Regions from separate parts of the Homo sapiens genome. Here all the other regions are linked to region 1. Evidence: promoter capture Hi-C in 16 types of primary human blood cells and fetal thymus (Javierre and others, 2016). All regions are on one chromosome and are shown on one strand. Each heading gives the region's core, a stretch centred on a gene start or on the middle of the fragment in contact. The rest is flanking DNA. Distances are from core to core; before and after follow the strand shown. Region 1 holds the start of ARMCX6 (armadillo repeat containing X-linked 6). Region 2 holds the start of BTK (Bruton tyrosine kinase). Region 3 holds the start of GLA (galactosidase alpha). Region 4 has its middle 17 kb from the start of HNRNPH2.

Region 1 (3,220 bases), core at 372-2,871:
GGGGCCCCAGGTTCAGTCCAATCCCCATCCTCAGTCCAGGGCCGAGCCATAGTTTCAAAATCAAACCAAATATCAGGCTCCTCCTCATCCAGCTCCTGGTCATCGTCCCACTCCTCTTCCCCCTCCTCCTCCAGCTTCTCACTGTCATCTCTTCCTATGGTCAGTTTGTAAACGCAGTAGCAGGCACCAGCCCCAATCATCAGTCCTGCCGCCATCCAACCCACTTCCCGAGCCCGGCCCATGCTCAAGTCTGTGCCAGCCTTGGGGCAGGACAGGAGAGGGCCTTGCTCCACCTGATTGAAGAGGTCTCTCAGGTCCAGGGTGAGTAAGGATGGAGGGTAGCAGTCTTCAGCTTCTTCCAGGCTCTTGTAGCTCTCTTGTGATGAATCTGTGGGTGAAACAGAGTATTAGGGCTCGGGACTATGTTTGGCTTTGTGCCTCACAGACAGGGTGGATTTCGAGTTGGTGATAAAGGCAGATTAACAGGATACAATTTCTTTGTTCTTTTCTTTTCTGTCTTCCTCTATCGACCTCAGGAGCCCCCATTTCTCTTCCTGGGTCCACAGGGAAGGGCAGGAGATGGGTCTCTGCTATGATAGCTAGGAGGGTGACAGTGTGAGTACCTCTCAGGTAGTCTCCTACACCAGACCTCCACCCCCAAAGATTAAGGGCAGTTTCTCTCATTAACCTCTACCAAAGTCAGATAAATTCCTTCGTTTTCCCTTGTCTTCTGTTGTCAGTGGTCCCTCCACGGTGATAGAGGATAGAGTCTGGCAGAAGGACAAATGCAAAGACAGGTAGGCGGCAATGGAGAAATGAAAGTGTAGTGGATGAACTGAGGACACAGGTCCCAATTTCTGTTTTTGTGAATTTTAGACACTTGAGTTTAAAATATTTCTCATACTCTACTGACTTTCCGGACGCAGGCCTCCTCCGCCCCACTTGTCGTCCGCCATTTCCCCAGCAAAGGCCGCCACACCCCTTTCCCTGCACTGAAATGGGAGTGGGTGTGGAGAAAGAAGGGGCCAGGAGAGGGCGACTCGGACCTGGCCCTCTCATATCCCAGCCCCCCTCCTCCGCCACCCCCACCCATGGTCCTGGGCTAATCCCACCTTCACACTGACCTGCAAGGTTCCAACCAAGGCAGTTTTCTCCTTCTCTCGCTGAAACTTGTGCCGAAACCTACAGGCCAACAGACCTACAAACCTGCAAACAGACAAGGGACCGAGGGGACGGAGTGCTTGGTGGACGGACCAGCACCCGGGACACTAGAACCTTTCTTTTCTCGGAGTCTCTGGAAACGCCATTCACTCCCCTCACCCCCACCCGAAACCCGCCACTTCTCTCTACTAAAATGAGCACGGGGTGGGGTGGGGGTGGGTAGCAGTATTTAGAAAGTAGGCGAGAAAGGGACCCAGCTGTGATCGGCCTGAACTCGGATCTGTGGCGTTCTTGGCCCTCTTCCACCCATACCTCCTCTCAAGCAGCGCCCACCCTCGCACCGACCTGCACGGTCCGAGCTAGTTTCCTTCTTTCTTCACACGCCTGCAGAGTAATAGGGGGCTGGTACCCAGACGGAGGCGACTAGCAGGACTTGTGCTCTAGGCGGCTCTTGGTCACGTGACGGCCACGTCACCAGTGCGCTCTGGCCCCCAATTTCCACTCCCACAAGCAGTGCGGCAGGCGCCAGCCTGCCTTGTATCTCCCCCTCAACCCCCACAGTGGGCCCTGTCACTTTTTTCCTCTGTAACAATACCAGAAACCAGAAGTGGCCCTGTCTTTCTGGTGTTTGAATTTATGTTTCTCTAATTCCAGGAAGGGGCAGCATCTTTAGGAAGGGGCAGCATCTTTTCCTGAGTCTACCCTTCATTTACACTTCTTGGGGAATTGTCTCATCCTTTCCTTGGCTCTGAAACTTCTGCAGCCCCTTTCTTAAATTTCTACACTTTTCCGTGTTCAGTCTCTACACCAACATTGGGTGAGGGGGCAGAAACGGAAGTCCAGGCAGTGGTGAGATTTTAATTAGTATTTTGATAACATTTAAGTTATATTTTGTCCTTTCTTTTTTATTGACTTGAACTACACTATTTTGTAATCGGAAAAAAACAATAAAGCTTTTCCCACTTGGAGAAGAAATAATTCAAATCTTTTTTTTTTTTTACAGATATATATATATATAACATAAGCAAGATTTCCCAGTTAATAGGAGGCCTCATTGATTTGATGAAGTTAGTTTGTATCAAGTTGAACATATTTTCTTCGGACTGCACAGGAAATAGCAGCTTTCAAACAACATATTAAAATGTAAAAACACACCCTTAGAAACAAAACCAGTTGTGCTTTCAACATGATTTATAAATTGATGGATAAATGAATCTATACCGAGAAGGTCAGTGTTCTAATTTTGACCATTTTAAGTAAGTGAACTATTGTCCCTTTCTTTCTCCTGGCTGAACTCATAGTATTAGGTGTCAGATGACTGAGATCTTCATAGAAGATTGCTGGGTGACTTTCACTCTGGCTTCAAAGGACAGATTTTATGCAGACCCCAACTTCAGATGAATCTTACATCTTCAGATGAACTTTACAGATTAGTGACTCCACAGATTAGCCTGCCTTTCATTCACAGGGCTTTATTTACAATCTATTCTGAAGTTTGTGGTGCAACCTATAAATCTTCCAGAAATTAGAGAATTTCCTGTTATCCTATTGATGAAAATGAGACTTGATAGAGGTAATTTTCTTTCCATCATGACACTGTTGGCGATCTCTCTGTTGTCTGCCATTCATGTATTTTATGCTACCCTAGCAGTGGTGAGTGTTCAGCATTTTCCAGTGGAGATGGTGGTGAGGGTCTGTGGGTGACTGGGAATCAGTGCAACACCCCTGATGTCTGTGTCATTTTTTCCCCTCACAAGTGGAAGGGCAATGCACAGGATCTCAAGCAGTTGCCAGAAAAAAAGAGGACTTTTCATTTCCTGCCTTCTATTACAACTTCATTGAGCCACCAGTACAAGCCCCTCAGAATAATCCCAAAACTCAGGGACCAAGTATGCAGAAGTTAGTCCTCATGCATCCACCTGTCCCTGCTGAGGAGTCATACTCTAAATATAGACACTCCAGGCAACCTCTTAGAACATTGAAATATGACACCCCAGAGGGAGGGGCTCCCCAGTGAGGGGCTCCTGTGTGGAGGAGGCCCTTTCAGGAGGCAAGCCAG
Region 2 (3,220 bases), core at 290-2,789, 230 kb before region 1:
GCAATGGAAATTTGGACTTCAACACAAGCAAGCAGTTTAAATAGTTTGAATATAAAAGGAGTCAGAATAGACAGGACAAGCCCTAAGGGACACTGTTTGGGTATAATGCTTTAGGTTGCCATGAGTATTTGCATTTTGTGGCTTATTTGGAAAGTGACATTATTTTATCAAATAACTGAGGCTCCAGAGAGGCTGGAGTCTGGGCAACTTATCCAAGGATGTCTTGATTGGGGTCACCAATCACTTTTATTCTAAATGTCATATTATTTGCTCTAGGTAGGCCCTCTGGGGGACATTGGCAGGTCTGAGGCAGAGTAAAAATTATAGCAAATACTGAGATCCAGCACTTACTATTGCCAGGCCCTGTTTTAAAAGCTTTACATGTATTTGCACATTTACTGCTCACAACCACCTTATGGGGAAGGTGCTAGGCAGGCAGGGAGGAGGAAATGGAAAGGGAAAGGAAAAGGGAAAAGAGCGGGGGAAGAAAGGAGCAAGAAAAAGTCAATGCAATTCGGCAATTATTTGTTAAGTGCTAACTGTATGTCAGGGTCTGGTAATCAACAGAACAGAGGAGGGTATAATGAAGAGGGGATATAGGTAGAGAAAAGAGGATGAGTGGGAAGAGGAGGAGGTTGGAGAGGAGGAAAGGAAAGGAGAAATAATGAAGACAAGAGAAAAGCAAGCCATGCACATGGAGGGCAATGGTAAGAGGAGAAACCTTTGCCACAACCTCAAGGGTTGGCCGCACTGTCTGGGCTGAGGCAGAGGCTGCTTTCTCCTGGCCCAGTCTTTTACCCATTGTTACCACGAGGTTGGCACAGCTTCCACACAGTCCTTTAATAAGCCAGCTCTGACCCTGGCGACATTTGGCCTGGTACAGCTCAAGGCAGGTAGCCTACACCCTGGCCTAGCCAGGCCTTTCCCTAGCTCACAAAGGTCAACTTCATAACGTGGAGCGTGAGCTTTTACCATGTTCTCAGAGAATCTGCCTCTTAGTATTTCTTTTTCTAAAGGCTTCATTGACCCATGTATCCCTATTGAGTCTTCAAGCACTATTTGACAGAAGGGCTTGTTTTTATCTGACTGCTCCCTGCAATATTACTTTTCCACTAAGTTTGCCAGAGGTACCCCTTTCTAACATTTGCTACCTGTTCGGATGGTCACCTCATGTCACATTTTTCTCTTCCTGTTCCGCCCACCCTCAGCCCTTGTCGGAAAGGACCCTTTCGGCCTCTCTAATCACCAGAAGGGACTGCCAGGGCCTTGTGCTGATGACACTCCCACCCTCCGTCAGCCTCCTCCACTAGCTGATAAATGGCACCAGCCATGCTGTCTCTCTGGTTTTTAGGGGTCCCAAGCAAGGTACATTGCTGCTGCTGCCCAGCCCCTGCCATACCCCAGACCCACCTCAGTCCTGACTTAATGCAGGTAGCTTCCCAGATGCATTGAGATGCCAGGACTTGGAAGGTGGGACTCGATCGCAGCAGACACTGGCCCTGGAGACATATTCTTACAGTCCAGAGAGGAAGGACAGTCTGAGCAAACCCCACCCTTTCACAGCCACTCAGTTCCCTTTTTTTGCTTCCTGACCTAAACCAATGTCTTTTTTTCTTCTCAGCAGCATGCTATCTGGTTCCCTGCTGCCGTCCCTATTCCACCCCCTCAACTGTCCCCGCCCTTCATTTGCTTGGGACCTCTGACACTACTATCTTGAGTCTATCTTTGAAAGAACCTTTCTCAACATGACTGGGGCCACTGAGACTCTAGATGGGGCTGGCCTGAGCAGACAGGTCATCAAGCTATCCTCCCAGAGGTAAAGGGACAACATACCTAAAGTACTATGAAGACAGTCAGCACAGGGAGAGGGGCTTACAGGAAAGAGGAGAGATGCTGGGGGCTGGCAGACACAGAGCAAAGAGACTGGCCAGGAAGAGCGTTTTTCGAGTCTCCTGTCCTCCGGGGCAGAGGAGTCTCAGGGACACACAGTTGAACTTGATAGTGAAGGGACCCCAAAGGACAAAACAAGACAGAGGTAGAGACAAGACTTCCCCGTGCTGAGTCATTTTCTAAGAAAGCATTTTTCCCCTACAGATAAAAATGTCGGAATATAAGCCCACAGAAATACTTGTGCCCTTCCCCATTTTCTGTGGATGTTGACTTTCTCCATTTAAGATTTGGCCTCAGGGATTAACTCTCAATGTCCACCTTTCTCTTGAGTCCTGTAAACCGGTAAAGCAGACTAGGTATGTCACTTGAAGCCTGGAGGTTTTCTCAGGGGCCCCCTACATTATGCTCCAACTGCAATGATTCCCCCAGGGATTCTCCTAGGAAATGCAGCCAGTATTGAATGCAGACCATGATGGTGGAGCCCCTGCTGACTGATCTGCCTGCCCACCTTGACACCTCGGGCACTGCCATATTTCCTTGCCCCAAGGCACTGTATCCTAATGTAGAAACAGATCACAGGTCCCACTACAATTTCATCCGAAGTTTTAAGTCAACAGGACCTTATTTTTTTTTCTTTATTTTGTCTAAAAAACAAACAAACAAGCAAACAAAAAAAATGGGGTATATGTGCAGAAGGTGCAAGTTTGTTACATAGGTATATGTGTGACATGGTGATTTGCTGCACCTATTGACCCATCCTCTAAGATCCCTCCCCTCACCCCCAAGCCCCAACAGGCCCTGGGACCTTTTTTTTTTTTTTTTTTTTTTGAGACAGGGTCTTGCTCTGAAGCCCAGGTTGGAGTGCAGTGGCGTGATCATGGCTCACTGCAGCCTCCACCTCCTGGGCTCAAGTGATCCTCTCACCTCAGTCACCCTAGTACCTGGGACTATAGGCACACATCACTGTGCTGGGCTAATTTTTCTACTTTTTGTAGAGATGGGGTTTCACTATGTTGCCCAGGCTGGTCTCAAACTCCTGGGCTCAAGCGATACTCCTGCCTTGGCCTCCCAAAATGCAGGGATTACAGGAGTGAGCCACCTCTCCCAGCCATCAACAGGACTTTAAATAAAAACATTTAAAGTATTTGTAGACTGATGATAGAGTGGTTGATACTCACATTTGCACAAGACAGATGGACAGCATGTGTTGTATGATTGCCTTACTTTATTGACAACGTCTATCCTTTCGCTAGTCACCCCCAATAGCTGTTCCACTCACCTGCCTGAGGGTTGGCCACAGGCATTCATCTTCCCTCCTCTTTTCTTCAGT
Region 3 (3,220 bases), core at 228-2,727, 210 kb before region 1:
GAACGGTGGGGGGAAATCTTTATTTTCATTTTGCTCTTCTTTATCTACATTTTTTGCAATGATCATGCATTAGTTTTATAATCAGATGCAAATACCAATAAAAAAAAATCCGTGATGGGCAAAATTGCCACACATACTGTACCACAGGGTCACATGAAACTTACAAGGCCAATTTCTTCTGTGATGTCTGACCAACATCCTGACTTTATCTATAAAGATATTCATAGGAATAACTTATGGACACAGAAATGTACTGTGACTGCCACCTTTTACCAACATCTATCAGTGATTCCTAACCTTTTTTAAATCACAGAGCCCTTTGAGAATTTGAAGAAAGGTAAATATCCTCTCTCCAGAAAAATACACATATTCATTCAGATTTGTAGATTTACATTCATTTTCCCATTGAACATTTGCTCTGTAAGCGCAGTTGAATGGTCAAGCGCTGTGCTATGTACTTTAAATAGGTTATCTCCTTGAAAACTCACCTGTGTGAGATAAGAACTATTTTTCAGATTTTTTTTGTCAGCTCCCTGAAATTAAAAGGTTGTAATCCCAATTTACAGATAAGGATTGTGAGGGTCAGATATGTTCAATACCTATCTAATCCAGCCTCAACCCTCACGCAAAGGTGTAAATGTATAAAGTTCCTCCATGTCAACCTTCCAGCCTGATGCCACGCTCATGGGCGAGGTGGGAGAGATCTCAGCGACCTTATGGTCTCTCTAACTCCCTCGAGATACTGCCGAGAAATCCACGACCCCAAAAGGAGAAAAAATGGCACGAATCTTAGTTCCCCATTCCTCCTACCCACCCTAGATGTTCTAACGGTTAGCACCCGGCAGAGGAAGAGCAGAAGTTCACAAGAAGGGTCTGAATAGAACCGGGCAGGGCTACTTTGGGCACACTGCCTATGGGGTGGCCCTGCTCTGCAAGGAGCAGTGAAAAAAGAGAACCGGGCAGGGAGAGAGAGAAAGAGAGAGGAAAGAAGAGAAAGAGAAAGAGAAGGAGAACGAGAGAGAGAGAGAGAGAGAAAGAAACAGGGGCCGCTGGCCGGACTCCCATCCCAGGAAAGGTCACACAGAGAAAGTTTAGGGCTAGTCCTGATTCGGGACAGTTTGCTGGGGATAAAAAAGCAGCAGCAGAGTCGGGTGGGGGAGCTCTCCCTCGGGCTCAACTGTTCCCGTTGAGACTCTCCAGTTCCCCAAACACACCCAAACACATGGAAAAGCAAAGGGAAGGGAGTACCCAATATCTGATACCTGATGCAGGAATCTGGCTCTTCCTGGCAGTCAAGGTTGCACATGAAGCGCTCCCAGTGCAGCCAGCCCATGGTAGGCGTCCTTGCCAATCCATTGTCCAGTGCTCTAGCCCCAGGGATGTCCCAGGAAACGAGGGCCAGGAAGCGAAGCGCAAGCGCGCAGCCCAGATGTAGTTCTGGGTTCCTCAGCTGCATTGTCACGGTGACCGGACAGCATAAATTTCCGCGGGTAACCTGGGCTTTTAAGATTAACCTCAGGGGCGGACCAATCACCGATGACTTATTAAATAATGACGTTATTGTTTCTCTGGCAACTGGGACGGTTATCCCCAGAGGTAGACCAATAATCAGTCACGTAAGACGTTCCGCTAACCAATCACCCTCTTCCTTTCTTGATATTGACCCGCCCTATTTCCATACCAGAAGGAAGTGCGGCACCTTAGTGATCCCGAGTTTAAGCCGAGAGTTGCTCACGTGACCGAGATCTCACATGACGTAGGCGCTCACGTGATTACTCGCTTACGTGAGCAGAAGTAGTTCTGGTCGTCGTCTACCGTCTCGCTATAGCCGTTTGAGGGAAGAAGGAGGAAAATTACCCGGTATCGTTAGAGGTTGGTGTGTGGGTGGGAACTGGGGACCCAGGGGTGGTGATGATGAAGACCAGAGCGGGGTTCGGGGGCCGCCTCCGCCTCTTTCGTTCTCTGCTTTCCCCTCCCCCCTCGCGCTCTCTCCCTCCTCCCCCCCATCTCAGTGCCGGGAAGCCGCCTGTGCTGCGCCTGGTGGGGAAATGGTGGACGCTCATGACTGTGTATGTGTTTTTGTATATCTGTCTGTCTGGGCCGGTCTCGGGGGACCCCTAAGGGTGACCGTAAGGCGAAAAACGTTTGAAAACCACGGCCCTGAGTTAAGAAAAACAGATACTGAAAATAGTGGTCTGAGTGCTGGTCTATCCATTCAGGCACTCAGTCTCCACTGCCTGATTGTCTGTAAGGGGAGGCCCCAAGTGAATTTTATCTGTAGAGTCACATCTAGGCAAATGCGTGCTTGACAAAGGCGCCCAATAAATTACTTTACTGAATAGAGTATTTGAATAATGTTTATTTTTCTGCTGATAACAACAATCTACATATTCAATTTCGAACATTTGAAAAATAACAATATAGTATAAAATTTAAAAATACACATAATTCACCACCCGGAGACGACTGCTCAACCTGATGTCGTTACAGTTTTTTAAAAAATGTGTATAACACACATATAAATACACAAATTCTTAACTCACAAAGAGTCCTGGTTCCCACTTTAGCCAGCAGTCCTGATGGCCTTCCCAGGAGACGCAGTAATGAAGTAGAACCTCTCTGCCCCTACAGAAGGGCTCTTAAGGAATAGAGCGGTGCAGGGAATTAAATGGGACGGGTTATCCCAGGGATAAGGCAAGCAAAAAAAAAAAAAAAAATCCTGCAAAATGAAATAAAAAAACAGCTTGTAAATCTGTCACTGAGACCTTAGGATGGTTAATAGGAAAACTGTTATCACTGCAGATGCAGTGTGCTAGGCACATAATCGGCAATCAGTAAATGTTTGTTAAATCGTTTCCTCAGTGTAGTTTTATGGCCGTTATTACACTTTGTACTTTGTTTCCAAGAGGCCCAGTGCTCCCAGACCATTTCAGATAAACCATCCACATACAAAATTAGAAAATTTTATAAAATTTCCTATACCAAATCCCAGAAATGCAAACATTTTAATTTGTTTTATGTTACTTTTTTTGCTGAAGTAAAAGTAATTATTTCTGTAGAAATTTAAGGCTGCATAAAAAAATTGGAAAAATAACATGGAAAATCCATAAACCTCCCACTCAGAGTAACCACTAATATGTTCTTTCTAACTTAAAAAGAAAAAATCCCAGTACAGCAAATGTAAAGAATTAAAACTGTATAGAAGTATATAGGGTAAAAA
Region 4 (3,220 bases), core at 211-2,710, 190 kb before region 1:
CCCAAGTAGCTGGGATTACAGGCATGCACCACCACGCCTGGCAAATTTTGTATTTTTAGTAGAGACAGGGTTTTGCCATGTTGGTGGGGCTGGTCTCGAACTCCTGACCTTATGTGATCCACCCACCTCGGCCTCCCAAAGTGCTGGGATTACAGGCGTGAGCCACCGTGCCTGGCTGTAAAGTCTATAAAAACCCGAAAGAATTGGGTTTGGAGAGCTTCTGGATAGCGAACACATGGAGGTACCTAGAGGGTGCTGTGCTTGTAGGGGGCATGGAAGCTTGGTGCCCCTTATCCTGTACCTTGTCCTATGTGATTGTTCCATCTGGCTGTCCATCTATATGCTTTGTAATATCCTTTATAATAAACCTGTAAACATGTTTTTCAGAGTTCTGTGACCCTCTCTAGCAAATTAATCAAACCCAAGGGGAGGGTCATGGGAACCCTGATTTACAGTGGGTCAGTCAGAAGCATAGCTTACAACCTGGCATCTGAAGTGGAGAGCAGTCTTGTGAGCCTGAGCTCTCAAACTGTGGGATCTGACACTATCTCCAGGTAGGTAGTAACAGAACTGAATTCAATTAGAGGACATCCAGCTGGTGTCCACTGCAAAACTGATTGCTTGATGTATGGGAAAATTCTCCCATACATCTGGGGCTACAGAAGCATTCTATATTAAATAGAGAGTATAGGAAAATCCACATTTTGTTTACTCCCCCCTGTATCTTACAGTGAGAGTGAGCGGTCAAGGGTGACTTCTCAGTTTCTGGCTTGTACAACTGGATGTTTGGAGTAACAGCATTAAGAAGCAGGACCTTTAAGATCACATTGAATACTAAGTTCAGGTATGAGGACTGTGAGTTTAGTCTTAGACATACTGTGTTTGACGTGCCTTTGAGAACACCCAAGAGAATATAGGTAGTTGGATGGATGGATCTAGAGCTCAGAAGGGGCCTATATATTGGATATATAAATTGTGTGCTATATGGATATAGTTGATAATTCAAGCCATGTGTGGGGATAAGGTTGTCTAGGCCAAAGAGTATCAGAGTGAGAATGCAGGAGATCAAAGAAGGAGGCTTGAGAAACTCCAGTATTTCATGTGGAGTACAGGAGAGTCAGCCTGCAAAGGAGACTGGGAAACAGCAGCCAGGGAGGTTTAAAAGAAAGTTAGGAGGGACTTGTGTCATTGAAGCCAAAGAAAGAAACTGTTTCAAGATGTAGGGAATGGACTGTTAACAATGTCCATTGCTGCTCAGAGGTCAAATAAGATGTGGACTGGTAAATATGTGTTGCATTTAAGAATATGGAGGCATTGGTGTCCTGGATGGATCTATTTTCATGGAATGACGGGGCAGAAATCTAGAATGGAACAGATTGGAGTGTGGTTAGCAGAGAGAGGAAGGCACTTTTTTTTTTTTTTTTTGAGACGGAGTTTCACTCTTGTTGCCCAAGCTGGAGTGCAATGGTGCGATCTCGGCTCACTGCAACTTCCGCCTCCCGGGTTCAAGCAATTTTCCTGCCTCAGCCTCCCGAGTAGCTGGGATTACAGGCGCACACCACCATGCCCGACTAATTTTTTGTATTTTTAGTAGAAACGGGGTTTCACCATGTTAGCCAGGCTGGTCTTGAACTCCTTACCTCAGGTGATCCGCCTACCTCAGCCTCCCAAAGTGCTGGGATTACAGGTGTGAGGTACTGCGCCCAGCCGGTAGGCAAGTAATGGAAACAAAGAATATAGGCAGCTATTTGAAGCACTTTGGCTGTGAAGGGCATGGAAAAGTCAGGGTAGAAGCAGGAGCGAGACTACGGGTCAAGAGAGGCCTTTCAAATTATTTATTTATTTATTTTTTTGAGACAGGGTCTCACGCTGTTGCCCAGGCTGGAGTGCAGTGGCACAATCACAGCTCACTGCAGCCTTGATTTCTTGGGCTCAGGCGATTCTCCCACTTCAGTCTTCTGAGTAGCTGGGATTAGAGGTGCGCACACCACCACGCTGGGCTAATTTTTGCATTTTTTGTAGACATGGGGTCTTGCCATGTTACCCAGTCTGGTCTCGAATTCCAGGGCTCAAGCAATCTGCCTGCCTTAGCCTCCCAAAGTGCTGGGATTACAGTCTTGAGCTGCTGCACCCAGCCAAGGACTTTTTTTAATGGAGAAATTTTGTGGATGTGTAAAGTTTACAATTAAGGGTCTGTAGGGAGTGAGTGGTTAAAAATACAGCAGAGAGATGGGATAAATCATAGAGTACGTTTGCTAAGAGAGAGGAGCATCTGGAATCGAAAGCATAGGTGGAGGAATTAGTGTTCACTAAAAGGCAAGAGCATCTCTGTCTTAATTGAGGAACTAACTGCTGGTAGGATGTGTGCAGGTATAGTTGGTTTATGTTTGGTGTTAGGAAGATGAGAGACAACTTCCTTCTAAAGGCTCCCCCAACCCCGTTATTTTTTCTGTAAATGAGGGTGTGGTCATCTGCATGTAGAGATAATAAGGAGGAGGAGTTGGAAGGCTGAAGAGAATGGAGAAGGTTCAATGAGTTGTAAGGGTGAGAGCAGGTTGTAGGTTGACCAGAGAAAAATAGAAGGACTGCTGAGAAATGTTGATGGCTCACTTCTGGTTGTTGATGGTAAATTTACTATGAGCCAAGCTTTATTTTTTTCTAAGTGCTTCTCTAAGTGTTCTAGTGTTTTATTTAATCCCCAAAGCAGCTCTATGAGGTAGGTATTATTATTATCACCCCCTTGTCACAGATGGTAAAATGGAGGTACAGCAAAGTTGTGTCATTTGTTTAAGGACAAAGAGCTAGCTAGGTTTGGAGCCAGGTAGTCTGACTCCAAAGCCCATGATCTTAACCATCACTCTAAAATATATCCTAAAAATAGGTCCTGATCATACTTTTTCATTGATAAACATAGATCTGTATAATCACATTTAAGGACTACATTGTTGGTTTTATGCTTGATGGTCTGTCCAGTGACTTTTCCAGAAACTCTCTAGCTGCATTCTTGAGTCAATGCCAAATCTCAGAAAGGAGAGAGCTTATTTGAACCCTATGTTACAAGAGTTTTGATTTCCTTTCCTTCTAGTTTGTTGTATTTTCCAATTTTCTATAGAGAGTACATATAATTTTCATTTTGTGGGGAAAAATAAAGTTAACATCTCTAAAATAAAAAAGCCAGGCTAGGAAGGGAATAGAGGTCTAAGACTCAGTGTTTTTAAAA

Evidence for each region. Contacts are between HindIII fragments. The CHiCAGO score rates a contact against its expected background, and 5 or more counts as called.
Region 2: a contact is called between the fragment with the promoter of BTK here and the fragment with the promoter of ARMCX6 in region 1, in 13 of 17 cell types (monocytes, total B cells, fetal thymus and 10 more). The highest score is 10.6, in monocytes.
Region 3: the fragment with the promoter of GLA here is called in contact with the fragment with the promoter of ARMCX6 in region 1 in 15 of 17 cell types (total CD8 T cells, activated CD4 T cells, M1 macrophages and 12 more); the score reaches 9.3 in total CD8 T cells.
Region 4: a contact is called between a fragment that was not itself captured here and the fragment with the promoter of ARMCX6 in region 1, in 1 of 17 cell types (neutrophils). The highest score is 6.6, in neutrophils.

Annotation. Positions count from the first base shown.
Region 1 is chrX:101,616,379-101,619,598 of GRCh38, forward strand. It overlaps ARMCX6 (armadillo repeat containing X-linked 6), which reads right to left and starts at 1,622. Exons shown (of 3, transcript NM_019007.4): 1 at 1,507-1,622; 2 at 1,125-1,206; 3 at 1-388. The coding sequence starts at 242. The HindIII fragment of the contact is 4,525 bases long and covers 1-2,112 here.
Region 2 is chrX:101,384,652-101,387,871 of GRCh38, forward strand. BTK (Bruton tyrosine kinase) reads right to left here and starts at 1,540. Exons shown (of 19, transcript NM_000061.3): 1 at 1,411-1,540. RefSeq lists an enhancer at 807-1,026. The HindIII fragment of the contact is 7,609 bases long and covers 374-3,220 here.
Region 3 is chrX:101,406,448-101,409,667 of GRCh38, forward strand. GLA (galactosidase alpha) reads right to left here and starts at 1,478. Exons shown (of 7, transcript NM_000169.3): 1 at 1,263-1,478. The coding sequence starts at 1,456. All of the region lies in intron 3 of RPL36A-HNRNPH2 (RPL36A-HNRNPH2 readthrough), which reads left to right. It overlaps HNRNPH2 (heterogeneous nuclear ribonucleoprotein H2), which reads left to right and starts at 1,775. Exons shown (of 2, transcript NM_019597.5): 1 at 1,775-1,872. The HindIII fragment of the contact is 11,084 bases long and covers 1-3,220 here.
Region 4 is chrX:101,423,986-101,427,205 of GRCh38, forward strand. It overlaps a transcript of ARMCX4 not described here. Among named protein-coding and RNA genes, the nearest start is that of HNRNPH2, 17 kb to the left of the region's middle. The HindIII fragment of the contact is 2,367 bases long and covers 278-2,644 here.